Linked DNA regions of Homo sapiens: region 1 is linked to region 2. Evidence: promoter capture Hi-C in human tissues and cell types (Jung and others, 2019). All regions are on one chromosome and are shown on one strand. Each heading gives the region's core, a stretch centred on a gene start or on the middle of the fragment in contact. The rest is flanking DNA. Distances are from core to core; before and after follow the strand shown. Region 1 overlaps GRAP2 (GRB2 related adaptor protein 2). Region 2 holds the start of CACNA1I (calcium voltage-gated channel subunit alpha1 I).

Region 1 (3,719 bases), core at 468-2,967, 350 kb before region 2:
CACAACTTCATATTTATGGGAGGACTTACTCCAATGCTTGCTCAAGATAGATGCTTAGTAAATATTTGTCAAATATTGAAGGAGATAGAAGAATGGATTTAGTGGGGTACTTCTATGGCTATCTGTTCTGACTTCTCAGTAACCTGTAATTCAAGGATAGACAGGTAAAACTGGGTGTTAGATTTAATCTCTATTGAGCAATATTTCAAAAAAGGGGAGTTTTCTGCAATCATACATCTCTGAAGAATAGATGGAAATGGAGATGATGAGTTTGCATGAAGATTGTGAAGGAAATGGCATGAAGAATTGACTTGTCACATGTGAAGGACAGGCAGCAAGGACAATGACTCTAAATAAAATAAAAAACAGGGTCTAATATAATTAGAAACCTTAAAACTGCAAAATATAAGTTATTTGTGAATCTACAAAAATAAATACATACAAAAAACAGGAGTCAAATCTCTGACCTGTATTTACCTTCTCTTGGTTGTTGTAATAATGATAGCTTAGAAATAGAAGTAAAATGAAAAGTATAATGTTTAGGAGCTGGTACAGTATGACAAGAATACCTTAATATTAGATTAAATTATATAAAATCACCACTTTTGGGGTAAAAAATAGGGTCAGCTATTGTCAATATCTTCTATTTATTTTTATTTTTATTTCTTTAGAGACAGGGTCACACTGTGGCCCAGGCTGGAGTGCCGTGGTACAACCCTGGCTCACTGTAGCCTTGAACTCCTGGCCTCAAGTGATTATCCTGGGCCCCAAAAGTGCTGGGATTACAGGCATGAGTCACGGCAGCCAGCCCCCAGATATTGTCAATTTCATATGATTTGATGTAGTATATTTCAGCTAATTGTAGCTAAATCAAAATACTCACAGTGTCTTGCCTTTATTGCCTTTTAACTATGGCCATAAAAATAAATTGGACAATTTTATTTGTCTTAACCTCTTTTACCTCTCAGACTTTGTGCATAGTAGGTACTAAACAACGTTTTGTTAATTGAGTGGTGTTTTTGGTTATCTTCTCTCAAAAGGCAGGACAAAAATTTGCCACACTATCAAATGCTGAGACTGCCCTTAAAATATAATTACCAAAGTGTTCGCTTCACTTCAGTTTTCATGATTTAGATAAATCCTTTTTGTTCCTTGTTTGGGCAGCACTGGGAAGCTAATTAATACATTATTAATATATTGTAGAGGCAAACAAGACTCTGCTTGCTCACACAGCTATGACAATAATAAATTCAGGTCAGAAATATTTTTTCAATTAAGGGAAAATGTTATTATAATGAGAAGTTATTTTTAAACAACAAGACACAACTCAGTGTCGAAACACGGCAGAGACTTACAAATGAGGTGAATGGCAGAGTCAGGCAAGCCCTCTCCTGATGGTTCCAATCATTTAGGGCCCAATATGGACGTCTAAAGTGCCCTGCAATGAACTCGAAATGATAACCTTTTGGGATCCCAGCAATGAAGAACTTCGTTATTATTCGTCTGCGATTTCATAACAGTTGGGATTGGTGCCAAACTTAGGAGCCAGTACTGAAATAGCTGAGCAGGAGGCATGAAATGGTTTTCAATTCAGAAAATAAAGAGCTCCCTCCCCAGTAGAAGAGATGCGGGAATGTTCAGGGAGGAGCGTGAAAAACCCGTGAGTTATAGTACCTCTTTGGGCCTCAGTTTTTCCACACTTTGTTAACTACCTCTTACAGAATATTCATTCTCTGTAACATCTGTTGTTGCAAGGAAAAATCAGATAATGCCTAAAAATGCTATGCATTTCTTGAGGGGGGAAAAAGCTAGAGCCAGAAAATGTATTATTTTGGTTTTGGTTGACCCAGAGATGTGACAGCAGCCACATTACATAAGAAGAGTTCTAAGAAAGCAGAGTTGTCTTCATTTTTTAAACAGAAGAACCACAATCTCCTTTCTGTTTGGATCCTTATACGAATCAAATATGTGAGCAAGAAAGGGCCTACGAAATCACCAATTTTAACTTTCCCCCTAATGCCATTAATTTTTCTTAGAGATATTTTGAGCATGGAGCATGCACAATTCTGCTCAATTTTTGCCATCTAATGAGATCCCAGCCCCAGGTGCTGTGCTTCTACAATAATGTCTCAATGCTAATTACATTTTAGAACAGTTAGGGCAAGAATAGTTCCAAACATACTTGAAGTAATAACTAGTCATATATCCAGAAGGTCAACAGTTCAATCAAAGAGAGAAAAAAATTAGCATATCTTAAGAAAGAATACAAGTGGTTTTGTACAAGAGCTCTCATTTAAGTCTACAAGTGCACTTAAAATACTGATACAGCTAGGTAATTCTATATTTGCCTTTTTAACTCAGTGAAAGCTCCCAATTTCAGGGTGCAGTGTCTGAGAACGAGAAGCATCTGGCAGGTGAAGGGGAGAGGCGTGTTGTTAGTGAAATTGGCTGGAATTTCAGGTTAGGGGTTTGTGCCAGGACTGTGCTGCATGGAGTTGTAGAGAGGGGGGCTTTGGGCTGCTGATGAAGGAAGAGAAACGATGTTAGAGAGCTTTGCACTGGGCCAGGGCTCTGCGCCAATCCTCTGTTACAGTAACAACACAGCGCTAATCCATGAGCACAGTAAATCCCTCAAATAATTGTGTATCAAATCACTACCAACAAAATTACACTCTGCTGTCATCAATGCAGTTTCCATAAAAATGTCTGATCTTTCCCCCAACTTCTCAGTTTCAAAAATGATTTCTAATGAATACCAAAGAGAAGCAATTGGAAGCTCCACCCATTGCTTTCTATTCTACATGACTGAAGTTACCTTTAGTTTAGAAGTGCATCACATTTTAATTAAAAGATAATAATAATTATTGAGTACTTATTATGTACTTGGCAATAGTTACATGGCTAATAGTGTTAAAGAAGATTCCGAAAAAAAAAATCACCTGCCAAAACCATCAAATAAATCATTTCTGCTCCACTAAAGGTAAAGTATTAAAATAATAAAACAGCTCAAGGATTTGTTTTTAATGTGCTAAAAAAGTGGTACTTTTCTTTCTCCAAGAGCCCCGCACTCTGCACAAGAAGTTCCTTTCAGTAAGGGTGCAATGTGACCTGGCATTGTGTGAAACACAGTCTAAGAACTCGTGATTTCATGGGGGAACTAAGCTGGGAATCTAAGAATGACTTTTATAATTTGAACTATAGGAAAACCTTTAGGAAGAAAATCAAGTTATAATGAAACTTATTCAACTCACTAACTTTTAAATAGGATGGGATCTTTTTACATTCAATTTAAAATATAAAACACTTTAAATGTACAGAAAAGTAAAGAGAATAATAATAACCAACTCATCACTGAGGCTTTTTATGAGTCTAATAGACCCTGTTCCATTTCAGAGGGGTCCTACAGTTGCTCAGGTAGGAATTTTTCCAAATTGAAGACCAACCTCTGGGGACAAAGCCTTTTTGCAGGATGTTTTGGGTCCGTGGAATTCTCTCCTTGATCCTCTGCCATCCTAATTGAGCTGTTCCTTCCATTCACTTCCGTTCACGGAGGTGATGAAGTGCTGTTGGGGGAGGGGGCTGTGGCAGATGCCAGGACCACCGCTGCCTTCAGCAGGTCACAGTCAATCCAGGAAGATCAATGCCCACATAAATAATTCTAACATAAGACTGAGTGCTGGAGAGAAAGAGATTCACTTAATCTGGGGCAGAGCTGGGAA
Region 2 (3,718 bases), core at 756-3,255:
AATGGGTGGTCCCTGCTTCCCTCTTCCCCGGGCACTCCCTGGGACAGACACCAGCTCTGCCTCTTTGTCCTCAGTGTCCCAGGGCAGATGTCAGTGAGTGCTGGGTGAACTAATTACCGAGCAGACCCTCTCACCAAGCCTGAGACGCTGTGAGCCGTCCCCCAGAAGGAGCAGGGAGGCTCTTAGCCCCCACCCAGCAAGGAACACCCAGTTCTGCATCCCACTCCAGCAGAGACCCGCTGGTTTCCAAAAGTTAGGGGGATCCAGGGCCCACGATCACCTCAGCCCCCTACAGAAGGGAAGCCTGGCAGTCCTGCAGCCAGTCTCAACATCCCAGCCTGCATCTGGCATCCCTGGATTCCAGGGCAGGACTCAGGCCTGCACCTGACCCACCAGCTCCCCGCACCCTGCCCTGTGTGGCCACAAGCACCAGAACCTCGAGCCACATATGGGCATTTTTTGGTGGGACCCTCAAACCACAAGGCCACCATGGCTTGGGTCCCCAAGCCTCCTCCTCAGTGGTCCCCAGCCCCCACTTCACCCTGCAAGCCAGTGCCACACAGTCCTTCCAGAGCACAGATCTCTCCAGACCCTGCTTCAAATCCTGCCCTTGGAGCACAGTCCCATCCCTCATGCAGCCTCCAAGGCCCTGCAGGGCTCCCGCCACACCTGCAGCCTCACCTCACTCCTCTCTGCCCCTCAGGGCTCCAACACTGCCTGCAACTCCTCCCTTCTCCAGGCTTCGCTCCTGCCATGCCCTCCTCCTGCCTCCCACTACCCTCTCTACCCAACCAACGCTCTTCCTTATTGAGGAGTCAGCTCTGGCATTGCCCATGTACACCCAGCAAACACTGCCAGAGCACCCACGATGTGCCAAGCACTGTGCCAGGTGCTAGGGTCCCCATCCCAGTCATCTGACAGTACCCCAGGGGAGGCAAATGTTAGATTCAGAATTCCACAGTTAGATGTGACAGTTAGATATGAAGCAGAGGAGGAATCCCAGAGGGCTTCCCTGAGGAGGTGATGCTTAAGCTGGGATTTTAAGGATGTAGCAAAGGATTTGGCCAGGTCCAGGGGGAAGGGAAAAGCTTTTCAGACAGGGGGAAGAGCCAGTGAGAGGACCCTGAGGCTCAGAAGAGCACAGGGGGGAAGCCAAGTGGTGGGAAGTGAGGCTGGGTGGAACACACAGGCCCTGATGGGTTGGATTAGGACTTTGCTCTGCACCTCCAGGACCATAGCAAATCATGACAGTCTTAAGCAGGGGGAACATGAGCCCACTGGAGGCAGCAAGTGGAGGCAGGAGGCCTGGGAAGAGGCTGCTCGGAGGCACAGTAAGGAGAATGAGTCCTGCCCTGTGTGTTGGGATCGGCTGCCCCGCTGCCCACGCCCACAGTTCCTGATCACGGCTCCCATCCTCTGTATGGTCACGGCCCATCAGGTGGCTCCAGAGTCTGACTGATCTGCATTCCCAGCCCAGCACAGGTCTGGGGCCCACACTCAAGGACTTTCTGAGCCAGCCAGCCACTGGACTGACCCCACAGCCACCAGCAACTTCCAGAACCTTCACATCAGCAGAACACCAGGTCCTCATCCATTTGAGGTCTCCCCAGACCCACCCTCTGAGCTCGCTCACCACCACCAAGGCCCAGTGGCCTCACCGCAGACCTCAGGTCTCCCAGCCGGAGCAAGGTGTGAGCAGCAGGACTCAATCCAGCCCCCCACCCTTCAGCCCCTGCAGGGCCCCGATCAGCCGAGGCTGCGGAGGATATGGGTTGCACACCATCTTGATGCACCAGTTCCGGGGGCTGGTGGTCTGTCGCAGGCAGAAGAAGGCAATAGGCGCCAGGTCTGGGTGTGGGACATGAGGATCAGCTCCATCCAGAGGCTCCTCCAGGCCTGGCGGGGAGGATGGGGGGCTCCGGGGTCCGGGCTGCTCCGTGGTGACTCCTGGCTCAGCGGCTGGGGCTGCTGCAGATGAGGAGGGCGGGGAGGCGCTCTCAGCCATGTCCACACTGAGCTGGGAGCCCTGGGGAAGACAGAGAGGGTGGCACGTGGTGGGGACAGGCCTGGTACATGCTCCCCAACCTGCCTCTCCACCAATAAGTGGACGGATGCAGCTCTGACAGCCCCACCTGAGCCCCACAGGCCCCTCACCCTCACTCTTGCATGAGGATTACGAAACAGCTGAGGGCCCAGCTGCACCCAACTTGGAATCTGCTTCCAAGCTGGGTGATCATGGGGCAAGTCTGCTCACCCTGGCTGAGCCTCAGTTTTGGCAAACGAAGATAGTGGGGAGAATAAAGCCTTCTTAGAATATAATTGTGATATTAACTCTTTTTTTTTTGTCTATTGGCAATTTTCTGTATTTGAAATCTTTCATTATTTAAGAGAAAAAATGTTTAAGTAATTATAGACAGAAAAGAAAGACGGAAGGGAGGGAGAGAGGGAGAGAGGGAGGGAGGGAGGGAAGAAAGGAAGGAAGGAAGGAAGGAAGGAAGGAAGGAAGGAAGGGATCTTAACTTTTTTACAAGACTAGAGCTATGTATTTATTGCACCATCAAAGGTAAAGAAAACTTGCAAGAAAAAAGAGGTGATTGTAAAGACAGACATTATTGCCAGGACAATGCAGGTTACAAAGGCAATGTTGGGGTGCTGCAGAATCAGAGACTGGGGGAACGCTGGCAAGCCAGGAGGGAATCACAGTTGGCTTCCCTGAGGAAGTAACCCCTGAGCTGAGACCTACAGCTGAGCCCTTGACCCAGGGACCTCCCAGCCACTGCCTTACAAGGCTGAGAACCCAGGAATCTTAGAGTCTAACCTCCTTGCCTTACAGATGAAGAAACCGAGGCCCAGAGAAGGGACAGGACAGACATGTAGCAGAGTAACAGCAGAAATAGAATTCCAGTCAAAGGCCAGGCACGTGACTCACACCTGTAATCCCAGCACTTTGGGAGGCCAAGGTGGGTGGATCACCTGAGGTCAGGAGTTTGAGGCCAACCTGGCCAACATAGTGAGACCTCATCTGTACTAAAAATACAAAAATTAGCTGGGTGTGGTGGCACACGCTGTAATCTCAGCTACTCGGGAAGCTGAGGCATGAGAATCACTTGAACCCGGGAGGTGGAGGTTGCAGTGAGCCAAGATCACACCACTGCATTCCAGCCTGGGCAACAGAGCAAGACTCTGTCACCAAAAAAAAAAAAAAAAAAGAATTCCGGTCAGAGCCCGCTTCCTGGGTCTGTGGCTCAGGCAGCTGCACAGGGCCCCGTGCTCAGAAGGGCCCTGAACTTGCTTTAGAATTCTTCTGTCACCAACATGAAATTCTTAATTGCTTATCAAGAGGTCCCACATTTTCATTTTGTTCTAGGTGATGCAAATCATCTTGCTGGCTCCGACTCCAACTCAAAGCACTTCTACTCCCTGGCCTTGTCTGATGCTCACAACAACCTCAGGAGGACTATTATGCCCATTTGGCAGGTGAAGAAACTGAGGCCAAGAGAACAAAGCGGGTTGTCAAGGCTATGCACCCAGCCAAGTGAAGCACTAGGTGGTGTTGAGAGGCCAGAATCCCAGCACCAGACCCCCAGGCGGGCTTCATGACAACTGATGGTGCCCTCGCTGGCCGAGAGCCTCCGCAACCAGTCAATGGCAAGATGGGACGGACAGCCACTCCCAGGGCCTGCCCCTCACCACCTCACCCCAAAGGGTACTAGTCCCT

What was found. Contacts are between HindIII fragments. The study calls those that stand out against the background at their distance.
Region 1: a contact is called between a fragment that was not itself captured here and the fragment with the promoter of CACNA1I in region 2, in 3 of the 25 tissues and cell types used here (IMR-90 fibroblasts, lymphoblastoid cells and spleen).

What each region holds. Positions count from the first base shown.
Region 1 is chr22:39,916,087-39,919,805 of GRCh38, reverse strand. The region is part of intron 1 of GRAP2 (GRB2 related adaptor protein 2); the gene reads right to left. Among named protein-coding and RNA genes, the nearest start is that of GRAP2, 17 kb to the right of the region's middle. The HindIII fragment of the contact is 5,666 bases long and covers 1-3,719 here.
Region 2 is chr22:39,569,040-39,572,757 of GRCh38, reverse strand. It overlaps CACNA1I (calcium voltage-gated channel subunit alpha1 I), which reads right to left and starts at 2,005. Exons shown (of 37, transcript NM_021096.4): 1 at 1,770-2,005. The coding sequence starts at 2,005. The HindIII fragment of the contact is 10,754 bases long and covers 1-3,718 here.